Regions from separate parts of the Homo sapiens genome. Here region 1 is linked to region 2. Evidence: promoter capture Hi-C in 16 types of primary human blood cells and fetal thymus (Javierre and others, 2016). All regions are on one chromosome and are shown on one strand. Each heading gives the region's core, a stretch centred on a gene start or on the middle of the fragment in contact. The rest is flanking DNA. Distances are from core to core; before and after follow the strand shown. Region 1 has its middle 95 kb from the start of LINC01606. Region 2 holds the start of SDR16C5 (short chain dehydrogenase/reductase family 16C member 5).

The links. Contacts are between HindIII fragments. The CHiCAGO score rates a contact against its expected background, and 5 or more counts as called.
Region 1: a contact is called between a fragment that was not itself captured here and the fragment with the promoter of SDR16C5 in region 2, in 1 of 17 cell types (total B cells). The highest score is 5.5, in total B cells.

Annotation. Positions count from the first base shown.
Region 1 is chr8:57,120,279-57,127,261 of GRCh38, forward strand. It overlaps the pseudogene RNA5SP266. Among named protein-coding and RNA genes, the nearest start is that of LINC01606, 95 kb to the right of the region's middle. The HindIII fragment of the contact is 294 bases long and covers 4,981-5,274 here.
Region 2 is chr8:56,314,651-56,321,519 of GRCh38, forward strand. SDR16C5 (short chain dehydrogenase/reductase family 16C member 5) reads right to left here and starts at 5,525. Exons shown (of 7, transcript NM_138969.4): 1 at 5,409-5,525; 2 at 1,365-1,711. The coding sequence starts at 1,697. The HindIII fragment of the contact is 5,835 bases long and covers 694-6,528 here.

The DNA.
Region 1 (6,983 bases), core at 3,878-6,377, 810 kb after region 2:
AACTCAATCTCTTTATTGAGTCTTAAAAAGATTAGTTTCCCCATCTTGTAAGTGGTAGTAGCAGGACACAAACTCAAGTAATTCTCACACCAAAACCTTTCTTTTGAGCCTCTGTTGACTAAAATCCATACTTGCATTTATATATGTTATACTGCTACTATGAAGACAATACGTTCATGTTAAAACATTTTTTAATGGTAGAAAAGTACAAAGAAGAAAACAAAAATAATTCATTATGCTGTTCAATATGTTAGTATATTTTCTTTCAGTACATTTTCTAACTATTCTCTCTATGCATATATCTAATTTATATTAGATGTGATTGCTATCGTATTTCTTACACATTTTATTTTCTTCTTTACTCATTCAATTCTGTCCTCTCAATAGGTTCCTATGTTTCTAGCAGTTTTTCAAAAACATTATGTTAAATGACGGCCTAAAATTCTATGGTATGATTCCTTTAATTACAAAATAGTTTTCCTTTTTCCTGCTAAATATTCAGGTTATTTCAATTTTGTTCTTTACCGTTATAAATAATGCTCTCTGGATCATCTTGGATTTTGTTGCATCTCTAATTTTTTCCAATATTATTCCTCAAAGTGGAATACTGGATCAAAGACTGAGAGGAACATTTTTAAGGTTCTTCATCTGCTTGGTAAGCCAAAAAGTTTACGAAGTTTATACTTCTGCTTGTATAAAATAAATTTTTGTTTATTCCTCTCTGATGCTATTGTTGATTTTAAAATATTTCCTAATTTGTTAGGTTAAAAAATTGTCTTCTAGATATAATATTCAAAGTGGGCTGCTCTTCTAAGAGAACTGCAGAGGAGCAAACACTGGTGGCACTGGCATCTTTCCTCTTCATCTGCTTTAGTCATTATAAATGAGAGACTTCTCGCCATTAAACTCTTCATTCCATGCTAGAAATAATGGTGAAAACCAGCACATGAGCTCAGCTGTATGGTGGAGCCATGCACCTGTTCAGGATGTCTTTGAGCTTTGCTTTAATTCTCAGCTTAATAATAAAATGTAAAACCACTAGGGGCAGTCAGTTTAGCATGTTGGATATTCTCAGCAAGTGGTAACTAATGGAATTTAACATAGAAAATTGTATCATTATCCAAAAGATAATAATATCCATATTCCAATTTATCCTAAAAAACAACTATAACATATAAAATAAAATAACTAAAACGGTTAACCTAAAAGAGATTAGGCTTTTCTTGTATCTAATTACAATGAATATATATAATTTTACATAACAGAAAGTAGCAAAACAATTTTAATCAATATTTTCAAATCTTCTACCCTGCCTTCTTCACCCTACAAAACTTCAACAACAAAACTAAATAAACAAGGAATTAAATAAAATATATATTAGAACTATGTAAAGTAGCAAACTGGGCTCATTTTATTTTATTTCCTTTCTACCCTGGTACACTGCAAACAAAGTCACATGCACTGAAATTGCAAAATACTTCAAACAGAAGATGGAAAGGACAGAACCAGTGGCCTGGATAATCCACAAACTTGAGGAGCAGCCCTGGGATCATTGAAAGCTGACTGGAATGAAACAAACAAAAAAACAAAAAACAAAGAATGACTCTCTATACACAAATAAGCAATCAGTCTTCCGAACAATTTTAAAACTGTATGGTGGTATGTGGATCACTCCCTTGTAAGAAGACATTTCAAAGATTGAAGCGTGCTTGGAGAGCAACAGAAACGATTGCAAACACAGGCTTCTGGGACAAGAATGCTTTAGATGTCCTCTGCATCATTCTACAGAGAGTGAAACTTCCCATATGATGGCTGAGGGTCACCTGTTAGTGAGAGATGCAGGCTAAGTGTAGAAAATCCAAGTCCCATTGAGAAGTTATTTGATGGAATCACTAGAAAATCCTGCCATCAGTAGGTGTTGATGTTAAACTGGGAGAAATCTTTTTAACTATTTTACAAAAACTTTAGAAGAATAAAATACAATCTTGACTTGGAGACAATAAGCCCTGTCACTTACTGATAAGGTAATCCAAGGCAGTTCACATAGCAATCCTGGGCTTGGTTTCCAAGATGGACTTTATAGGGAAGCAAATCAGGCAAATAATCAGAAATAATTTTATTGTGGAGGACTACAAAAATGATTAACATTTTACCTATAGTATTTTGATTGTGTGTATATATAGCCTGTGCTTGGTGAATGGGAAAGAGTAAAACAACAGTAAAAGCACAGACTGCTATACTGAGTAGAAAGTCTGAATGACACAAATCACTTTTCATAAACTCAATGCTTACATGCAATGGGGTAGACATTTTTCTTGGGAAACTATTGTGTTCCCACTAAAATCCAAGAAAATCTACTTAATATCTTCACAGCATCAAAGCATAGAAGGTTTTCATTAAGAGGAAGAGGAAAAGAGAGAAAGAAAAATAGTGGAGGGAGGGCAGTTATTTTGCAGAGAATACTTTGAAAAGGAAAGACACCTCTGTGAAGCAGCAAATTAACTAGAACAAGAGAAATGAGTCAGTGAGATCAGGGATAAATCTGGTCCAGTTTTCAAAATAACTTTTGAAATGTTTTTCCAATTAGTGTAAATATAAAAATGGAAGCATCCTTTCAAATAAGGATAGGCATAGCCCTCGGAGTAGCAGAGAGTATAGCAGAATATCAGTAATGACACAGGCTGATGAGGGCTCAGATAGAATCAGAGCATAGACAACAGTCACAGTTAGCACAGGGTTCTCCCCACCTCTTTAATAAGAAGACATTGCAAGTCAACACTGAAACCTTGCTGAACGCTATGTGTAAGTTGTTATATTATTGCATGTAAATATCTCTGTGAAAAAAAATGAATAACTACATATACATGGAGAAGTTAATGGTTAGTAAATTTTATGTAATTTCCATCTTATACTTTTCAGAATAAATCTCAAAAGATTTCTTGCTGTCTGAGTTTGTCTCCTGTAACAGCTAACACTTCTAGCTAATTAGCGACCTCTATTTGACACACATATATCACACATACCTCATTTATTCATTCATTCAACAAGCATTTATTAAGCACTCCCTATTCCCTAGGCACTGTGCTTGGCTCAGGAAGATTAGTAACTAAAGAAGAACATTGTCTTTAAGAAATTCAGCATCTTATGGAGGAAGAATGCCATTAAAATAGGTATAGCTGTAAGTAATCATTATCCCTATCTCTATTACTATCTTGTCCAACTGATTCCAGAAGGATTTCACCTAACTTACTCACTGGTTTGGATCCCATGAAGAATATATCAATCTTCATAGATTCATCCATTGTTTATTGAATATGAAATGCTGGGCTGGCTTGATAGATCTAGTTACTCAATATTTAACCCCAAGTTGCGTGTCTTTTATTTAACTAAGCATAAAATGAACACGATTGAGTCAGTTCTGTCTTCAAATATCAGTTGGCCAGCTGGAATGTAAGAAGTCTATTTGTAGGACAAAAATAATGACAACAGAATTAGCCCCTGGCTATCCAAAATGGTTAATTTGATTTAGTGAGGGAAATTATGAATAAATATTAAAATCCAGAAGAAACTGCTGGTTATTGTACAATTAGCAATTACATACTAGCCATAGCTTTTAATTATATTGCTTGGACTATAATAGGGCAATACATTCAAAACAGCTTGGATTTGGCTTCCAAAACATGGCATGATGCATGCAACTTGTAAATGCCCACAATGATATTTTCTTCCATTTCACTATGGGAACTGAATTATCCTTCAGCAAATCAATCCATCTCTCACATTTGCACATAGTGGGCTAAAGTAGAGGAAACAGAAAAAAGCATTAGCCAGCTATCCTGTATCAGCCTATGTGCCCAGGACCCATGAGTGTCCCATGAGTGCTCCCCGTCACTGTCCATTAGCCATTCACATGAAAGACCATCACCTTCACTACTGCATCTGCTCTGAACAGAAGAAAAGAAGGACCATCACATATACTCTGCACCAGACTTCTGATTCTGCCAGATGGCAGTGGTCTTTAACCATATGTTGTACGTGATTAGAGAATGGATATTTCTATCTGCGTGACAAACTGTGGATTCTGGACAACCCTCAAGGGCCACCCCCAGATAGTAGAGCAGCAGCTGTCTGCCTGGATGTTTTCCCAACAGCCATGAAGATTACAGGTTTTGGCTCTGTCAACCCCAGGCTCAAATTGCAGCACCTTCACTGTGGGATCTTGGGCAAGCCACTCTCTCTGGGCCTTAATCGTGTCCTCTGGAAGCTTCAGGTTTGTAAATCTGTGATATTGAAATGGACATAGAGGTGGATGGCATCATACTGGAGGGTGTGGACTCTGGGACCAGCCTGGGATCAAAGCCTGCTCCTCCACTTAACAATTGTTAGACTGCAGGCAATTACTTATTCACGCTGTGCTTCATGCTCCTCATGCTTTACACAGGAATATGTATAGTGCCTCCAGAGAGTTCCTGTGGCAATTAAATGAGTTAACAAATAATTGCCCCTGGCAGATAAGTGACTATGCAAAGTGTTTGCAGTTGTTATTATCTCTCAGTGATAATTGAGATGAATTAATTTTAAAAATTAAAACAGTCTCCAGCACACAGAAATCATTCAACGGTGGTGGCAGTTGTTATTGTATTGTTATAACTTGTAATAGTGTTTTCCATAACTACTTCATTCCAGTCTAGCAGAGATGTATTTGTCCCTTGACTACCAGGTAAATTATAGCTGCATACCTGTTGCTACTGTGAATGCAGGGTAGGAACAACTACTTGGATCAAGCACAATGGTACCCAGGACTGGACTTTTTTCCCTTCCATTAGTCCAGATTTTAACATTCCTAAACAGCAATAACATTCCTAAGTATTTTTGTGACTTCCATGTGCAACTGAGGTCTTGGGCAATGTGAAATGTCCAGATTGAGATGGTGAAGCCCCAGTGTGCCAGGATCAACTCCTCCCTGGGGTGCAAAGATTAAGCTTTCTTAGAATTACGCTTGAAGTCAAGGTGCTAATTTTTTTTTGTCTTTGACAAATTATTATGGAAATGCTGATCTCTGAGTTCTTTGCTCAGAGGAAGCATAAATGAGTGCCAAACAAGAACTTAAGTTATACTTCTGGCATTCTGAAGATGTCAGGTAAAGGGCCAAGGAAAGGAGTATGCCACTTTTCCTATAAGCTGAAGAGGATATGAAATATATGATTCTCTTATATGATTTTATTGATTTAAAAGGTACACTAAGCCACAGAACTAATGGCATTTCTAAAAGTAAGCTTTTGGTTTATTCCCTTTGTCACTGTAGAATACTAGCCATGGGTATATTTATATTTTATTTTATTTTACTTTATTTTATTTTAGACAAAGCTGAAAGAGCACACTGTAACACACATCACACCACTTGGGCAGCCACCCACTCCTAGATGCTACCATGGGACCGGAGCCCCACAGCACGTGCCCCGGCTCCTGCACCTGCCCATCTGCTTGCTCCCCCTCCCATAGGGGGTTTGAGCACACGGTGGCTGAACACAGTAGCCACACCTCTGCCACATGTCCTGCATGGAATATCAGGGAATTCCCCCATCTCAATAATAGTGTGGATTATAACTTATAGAATAAAACAGGTATCCATGACCCCATGTGGATATAAATAAGTGATTGAATAAATACATATATGGGTGAAAAGAGAAGGCTTTCCCTTACAGAATAATTCTAATTAATATATGAAGAAGATATGGAGGAAATACAAAATTACTATTAGGCAAATACCACAAGAATAATTGCTGTAGGCAAGATTCACCAATGGATACTAAAATTAATGTTGGGGAGAAACAGCATATGTAGTCTCAAATTATTTCTCACAAAATATTGGTGAATTATAAAAGAAAAATAGTAATTTTACAGTGGAGAAACTGCACACACTGTCTTAATCAAGTGTTCAAGGTTAGAAATATCAGTAATAAGGCACATTGACAGCATGTATGACCTGATATACTGCACTAAGAAAGGCACAACATCACTTCTGTGCCATTCTCACATAAAATGCATAATCTCAGTCTAATCAATCTCAGTCTAATCATGAGAAATCTAAAGTAAGGACCATTCTATGAAATAACTGATCAGCAATTATCAAAAGTATTAAGGTCATAGCAAACAAGGAAAGAATGAGGATTGGAGGAGGTATTGCCAATTGGAGGGGACTAAAAAGATATAACTGAATACACTGTGGGAACAGAAAAGAAGATTAGCAAAAAACTGGTGAAGTTTGAACAAAGTCTGGCTTGAAGTTTAGTTAATAGCATTATATTAATGTTAATTTTCTGATTTCATTAACTGTGCTGTGATTATGCAAGATGCTAGTATTAGGGAAGTTGGGTGAAGTGTATATGAGAACTCTTTCATCCAAGTGCTAACCAGACCAAACCCTGCGTAGGTTCCGAGATCAGACAAGATCAGGTGTGTTCAGAGTGGTATGGTAGACTATGAGAACTCTTTGTACTATGTCTGTGACTTTTCTATAAATCTAGAATTATTTAAAAGTAAAAAGTTTTTAAAAATTCCTGGCACCTCACTTTGATTATTTCAAAACTTGTTTTAAGCTTTGCTAAGGTTAGTCTATTCCAGTTTTGTCCTTAGTTTTAAGGTTTTGGTCCTTAATTAGTCCTGGGATTAATTAGCACAGGTGTTTTCCCTTTTTTTGTTTGTTTTTAGATTTGAAGGATTTAAAAAATCTTTTTAAATTTAAATCGTTGTTTGGGTACAGGTGGTTTTTGGTCACACAGGTAAGTTCTTTAGTGGTGATTTCTGAGATTTTATTGCAGCCATCACCCGAGCAGTGTACATTGTACCCAATATGTGGTCTTTTATCCCTCACTCTTCTTCCAACCTTCCTCCCTGAGTCCCTAAAGTCCATTATGTCATTCTTATGCCTTTGCGTCCTCATAGCTTAGCTCCCACTTATAAGTGAGAACATATGATATTTG
Region 2 (6,869 bases), core at 4,275-6,774:
AATTTGTCAGGTGTGGATCTCCAGCCTGTACTGGGCAGCCTGTGTTTGGAGATGGTGGTGGCAGAGAGGTAAAATGTAAAGACAAACTTGAAAGTCATAAACTTATCTGCCAGGGACCTGCAAACCTTAGCAAGGAAATCCTGATTGAGCCTAGAAGCTAAGGAGCAACTTTACAATGTAGTCAGGCTGCTCACGGCAGGCTTGGTTGGTTCTTCCCTTCTCAATAAGTTGGGCAATTCTGGGAGGCACAAAGTGTCCCAGGAGAGTGATGAGTGAAGTACTCAAGCCAATATGAGGACACAAAAATCCTTAGGACGGGCACAGTGGCTCATGCCTGTAATCCCAGCACTTTGGGAGGCCAAAGTGGGTGGATCACCTGAGGTCGGGAGTTCGACCAGCCTGACCAACATGGAGAAACCCCGTCTCTACTAAAAATACAAAACAATTAGCCAGGCATGGTGGCACAGGCCTGTAATCCCAGCTACTCGGGGGGCTGAGGCAAGAGAATCGCTCGAACCCAGGAGACAGAGGTTGTGGTGAGCCGAGATGGTGCCATTGCACTCCAGTCTGGGCAACAAGAGTGAAACTCCATCTCAAAAAAAAAAAAAAAATTCCTTGTGAGGGACGGGCACGTGCCTCTATGATGGTAAGAAAATCCCTACCATCTTCATGTCAGAGCTTTGGTTTCCTGAAAGCTTTATGTGTGTATCTGTATAAACCCCAAAGAAGAAAATATAGCTGAGTCTTTAGGATTAATAAAAGATTCTGATTGTCTTATGACTACTTAAGAGCAATACACATTCGAACGTAGGGTACTGTGGTGGAGTGGACACAGCCTAAATTTAAAATCAGACAGAATATGGATTCAAATCCTGCTTCCATCACACACCAGGTCTGTGACCGCTGGACAGGTTATTTAATGTCTCTGTATCTCGAGTCCTTATTCTTAAAGAAGGATGCCTCTATCCCTCCATTAACTTACACTGTAATAGGGGCCGGTATGGTCCGTGCAGTGTAATGTTAGAAGCAGGTACTCAGGTGTCAATAGATGCAAGTGGCAGCTATAGTCTTGCTGTTTACTAACTGTGTTTCTTAGGGCAGCTACATACCTGCCCTAAGCCTTAGTCTCCTTACTTGTGAAATAGGGATAATAATGGGTTTTACTTTATAAGGTTATAATACATACATGGTAGTTAGTACAGTGTCTTTGCATACAATAAGAATTCAAAAATCCCAATTCCCATTCTCCCATAATCTTGTTTACATTAAAGGGACACTGGAGACAGGCTAATAGGCACTGAGAAAGGCAAGTGAAAAAGAGTGTGATGTGTATCAAATTATAATAGTAAACACACAAGAGTTACCTGGTCGGCTACTCTATACACTCCTTCCTTTTGGCTGCAATCGCAGGTATAGGCGTGCACTCTTGTGGCTCCAGCTTCCCGAGCCATCTTACATGTTTCCTCATTCCCCTCCTTATTGATATCCCAGAGAACAAGAACAGATCCCAGCCGGGCAAACTGCAAGGCTAAGAGCCTTCCGAGTCCACTTCCAGCACCTGTGATGAGGACTATTTCACCAGCAACGTTCTTCCGTGGCTTTGGGAGTAAGGCAAAAATCATAGCCTCCAGAAGACTAAACAGTGATTTTCCTAAGAAAATGAACAGTTTCTTTGATGATTGCAGGTTGAAAGACATGTTCTGGCTGACACCTGTGAAGAAAGACAGATTCACATGAAGACTTATTTGTCCATTTCCTCTGAGTTGTTTACTCCACGGAGCTCCTATTTTCTGAAACAGTGAAAGTAACTGAGATATGTGATTTAAACAGCTCTCCTGGTAGCAGACTCTGTATTCAGAAAGTGGGAGGAGGAAGCCACAGGGACTATACTTATTCGGCTTTCTTACTTGGCCCCAGGCTCAGCATGTTATTTGCATGCCTGCTATGTGCAGTACACAACAGAAATGTTTGTTAACCAGGAACTGTAACCACCACACCCAAATTTAACACAAAAGAATAAGTTCATTATTGCTCATAGTTAGCCTTTCTTCATAATAATAATGAATCCTGTTGGCTGATTTTATGTTCAAAGTCTTGACCACATCACAATGTTTATAACATCATTACTACCTCTCTGGCTTTATGTTTCTCTCCTTTGATGTTTGTGCTTTCTCATTTGCATTCTCGTTAATTTTGCATTACTATTTAAAATCTGAGATTTGAGAGGAAAATGTAAAGTCCTATTTGTAGAAAGCATTTGACAGGAAGTAACCAGATGTTCTAGACCTTTTCCGACAGATTTGCAATCAGCACCAGATAGCCCTTCCCTAGGCTCTGAGGTCCCCGCACCAACAGCTCTATATCACTTACCACTCTGTGTGATTAAAGGTCACAGGCGAGGCAGACCTGGACTCCTGCCCTGCACTGCCTCTGCCTACCTGTGAACCCCATGGCGGGGGTTCTCTTGGCCTTACACTGGGCCTTGGTCTCTTCATCTATATTGGTCCCGTGGCATAGGGTGTTTTTGCAGATGAAATGAGAATGTTCCACGTATGACCACAATGCCTGGCTTATAGTCAGTGCTTTACAGATGTTATCACATTTCTCAGATTCATAGTGCTGCCCACCAAGAAGGCATCCACTAGGTCTGCTGAATGAATAAAAGGCCTCCCCTTGACAAACTCATACAGAGCTTAGTGCTTACATCCTGCTACCAGTTACTCACACTTTAGTGTGAATGAATATATAAGGTGTGCTTTACTAACCACTAGCTGAGAAAGAAGGGAAGGTCTTATTTCCTTCAGGATGGGAACAGAAGACATATTTAGCAGACAGCATACTGTGCTGGGGGTGGGAGCCTTCTCTGAATGGGGTGTTTAATTGAGAGGCTCAGACAAAGGCACAGGTGTGAGGAGACAGGAGGGGAGTAATGAAAAAAGAGCAGGTCTTCACAGTTTGGCTGAAGTCAGCCTAGTTGCGGTTAATGAGTAAGGGTGGATAGATTCATCTACAGGAGGACTTGGTATGTGGTCACACCCTTAGGAAATGTCGAGAGTCGATGCAACCCAGGCTGTTGTTCCTGGCTTATTGTACAGATGAGACTGAGGATCGAAGAGAAGATGTATGTGACTTGTTCAGGGTCCCTGTGCTGGTTAGCTGGTGAGGGCCAGATTGGTTCATGTGTTATGTTTATTGAGTATCCACCCTGTGCTGGTTCTATCTGGGCACTGGGGCTGAGGGGATGGGCAGCCTCTCATAATCTCTGTGCAGGTGAGCCAAGTAATCTAGTTGAAGAGACGTATTCAACAAATAAACAGATCGTTATAAGCCATAGTGTTATAAAGAAAAGTGCAGTGTGCTATGGAGAGGATGATCGGAGAGCTGATTCAGATTGGGCTTGGGAGAGGAAGCAACAGATGTCTGCTGGAAAGTGACCCTTTGAGTGGATATCCAAATGATGATGGTGGGAGGTAGGGATATTGAGCAGTAGCTTTCCTGGCAGAGGGACAAAATAGTTTGTTTTAAGGCAGGTTTGACCTGTGTGTCCAGGGCTGTCCAGAGAATAAGAATGTTTGCTCTAAGGAACATGGATGCTCTGGTCAAATGAAGAACGTTTTCATCCATGCTTTGATGAAATAGACCTCAAACTCTCTGTGATCTTTGCTCTGATTTACATTCACAGAGTAACTTTTGAATGATTGATCAGGCCTCTCAGGCACTGCAGAACTTGAAAAGGTGTCCTGAAAGAGGACTCTCATATCAAATACATGGAGCCTGTACCTGTGGATCTGCAAGGATGAGGGTCAGACTGTGCACACAGTAATGGGAAACCCTAGGCGCCCTTCTCAGACAGCAGCCTGGGCGTCGCCAACTTTGGAAAATCCACACCAGGAGTAGTTGGTCAGACCACCACATTCCCTTTTATATCACTATGTGAATTCACATAGAGGGACAGAGGTCTACTTCTCCCATCACAGGGCTCCAGCACCTCAGCAGTGGCCAGAAGTCTCAACATTGACCTGGGTGACATGAACGCTCTTAATGTCAGGACATTCTAGATTTCAGTGTTCCACTGTCTCAATGTTGGCTTGATGCAAGACCTAAAATATGTCCATCTTTTAACCCTGTCTTGGCAGATGCTTACTAGATTTCTAAGAGCTTGTCAGCCTGAGTTACCTCCCTTCCCCAGTTGAAGTTTAGGGTGCCTGCTGGGTACCCACACAGGCAATGAGGTCTAGAGATTAAAGTTTGGGTTGGAATTCCAGATATATCACTGATTTTCCCTGCAACTTTGGTAGAAATGATTTAATCTCTTGTGCCTCAGTTTCCTCCTCTAAAAAGGGAGTTTCTAATAGTGCATAGGAATACTTACCACACAGAGGAGCTGTGAGAATTAAACCAGTTTATATAGGTAAAGTTTTAAGGAGCATTATGTGGTCACTACTAGCTTGTGTGAAACCTTCGAACAAATTAGAAAAAAAAAAAAAAAAAGGCATTGCCCTGCACAAAGTCCTCTGCGGGGTGCAAGGGGTTGGGGAGGGGGTGCAAGAGGAGCTGTTTGGATTTCAACACCTGCCAGCTTACATGTCTCCCCCTCTGCTCCTCAATCCCCATAATAATGTGGCACAGCCATAAAACATGGAGGCCTTTCTAGAACAGTGCCAGGCACAGAATGACAGCAAAATAATTAATGGCTAGAACTTCCACTGGTCCTGTTAAGCATATGAATTAATAATCCCTGGCTATATCAATTAAATATGGTTATAGTATACTTACAAACAAGAGTGAATGTACGGTTCCATTTTACTGCAAAGACTTTCCTAGAATGTTACGGAGCGTATACAATTTAATCTGGCAGAAGTCTTCTAGGTGTCCCTATCTCGCGGCCTACCCAATCCAAACAGGCGCCCTCGGCTTCCCATACCAGTGCGCGGCAGCAAGTCGGCTCTGGTGAGGGCACCCGGACGAAACGGGAGGGCAGACAGACTGACAATCACAGCTTGGGTTGAAAGGGGTGATATGGGGGTTGATATCCACCCGGAAGGTGGATGCACTGAGCAGCAGAGAGCAGGGAACCTGGGCAGAACGGACCGAAGAAGAGGGTCCGGGGAGGCATCCTGCCCTCTGCTCCGGGTGGGGAGGGAGGCTGGCAGCTCACCCCCGGGGGCGAGGGGTCTGCGTTAGCCGTAGCCACGGGAGCCCGGGCTTCTGGGACGCTCAGCCGTGCGCTACCCGGTGCAGCTGCTTTCTCACCAGCTCGCGGGTGGGTCCTGCCGCGGCTCGGCGACCCGCGCCCCCTTGCGAGCGACCCAGCGTGAAACCAGCCCAAAGGGCGGCCTCGCCCGACCCCCGCCAGCGCGACCTCCTCCGGGAGCCAGCACCCAGGACCGACGACCTCGGCAACTTACCCAGGACACTCTCCCTAGCTGTCCGCGGAGAAGCCGGCCTCGTCTGCCCCAGGCACCCGAGTCCCTGGCTCGGAGCTCAGTCAGGTTCAGGTGTTTATCCAGGCGCCGCCCAAGTCCAAGGGCGGGACTGCCGCGGCAGCGCCAGGGGTGGGGCCGGCCGTAGCCCCAGTGCGCGACGTGGGCAGCACTCCCATCTTCTTTTTCTGGACCTGCAGATTTAAGAAGCTGGAAATTCGGTGGTGGAAACTGGATGCGTGCGCCGGATTTCTCTTAGGCTTAACGTTTCAATGCCTAGGCTGTACCCTAGATTATTAGATGGGAATTTCTGGGTTGGTAGGGGCCTAGGCATTAGCTAGAAAAGTTTCCCAGGTATTTGCAAGGCACAACCCCGAGGTTGGGAACCCTGGAATTAGAGAACAGAGCAGTATAGGCGTCCACGGGGGAGGGGCCAGGTCGTGTGTCTGGAGCCTGCAGTGCGGGGAGTTCTCCAGCAGCATCTGACTGCTCCACATGGGATCTTAAGTCAACAGCTTCCTTGCCCCTTGGAGGTAAAGGATGTGGGCGTGGGCTCGGAAGTCCCCGGGAAGTGGGTGGGGTGCAGGCAGGGGCAGGAGTGGGTGCGGCGCTGGCAGGCGGCCTAGGAGAAGAGGGCGAGGAAATTTGTTCTAACAAGATGAAGCCGAGAAATGAGGCTAGCGTAAGAGTCACCAGGCACTCTGACCCAATCAAGATATATTAAGCATCTGGGTGTACAGCGATCCAGAAGATAACAGCGATGATATATCTGTCAAGAAAAAAAAAAAGGAAAAACATTCATTAATAAATCAATAAAAGAGTTAATATAAGCACAAGACACCACTGAGATGCTAATAATAGAGGGTGAACTTTTCTGGGGGCAATGAGGGGCAGAAATGACAATAAATTATGGGATGTTGAAAGAAAAACAGGGGAGTCATGATGAGATTGGGTTTGAAATTTATCCCGGGGCTGAGTAGGACAGGAAAAGTGGTGAGGGGTCGAAGAGCAGCCTTAGCCAGCCCATATCTGGGACAGGTCTGGAGTAGAGGAACTGCACATTTGTTCTTTATTTGGGTGACAGAAGAAACAGGCAGGTCGTATAAGCTTGGAAAAGTAGGTGCAGGGGAAACCCTCGACTGTCTTTTCAGTACTTAAGAGGTTACTTGTGTGCTTTAGGCAGCAGCAGCGAGCTGTGGCAAGCTATGCGAGGCGTGTGGGAAGGTGAGTGGGTAAATGTGCGTGCATTGGTTTCAAGTCAGCCGTCACCACACAGCGACACTGCTGTGTGGGGCTCTGGGGAGTTGCAGGGCTTCTGAGGGAGAAGGGAGACACATTCATAAACAGTGCGGGTGATAGACATGCACCCCAGGTGCTTCCAGAGTCCACAACCAGCCTGCAGGAGGAGAGGCAGTTGGACTCAAAGGGCCTTCCAGAATGGGCTAA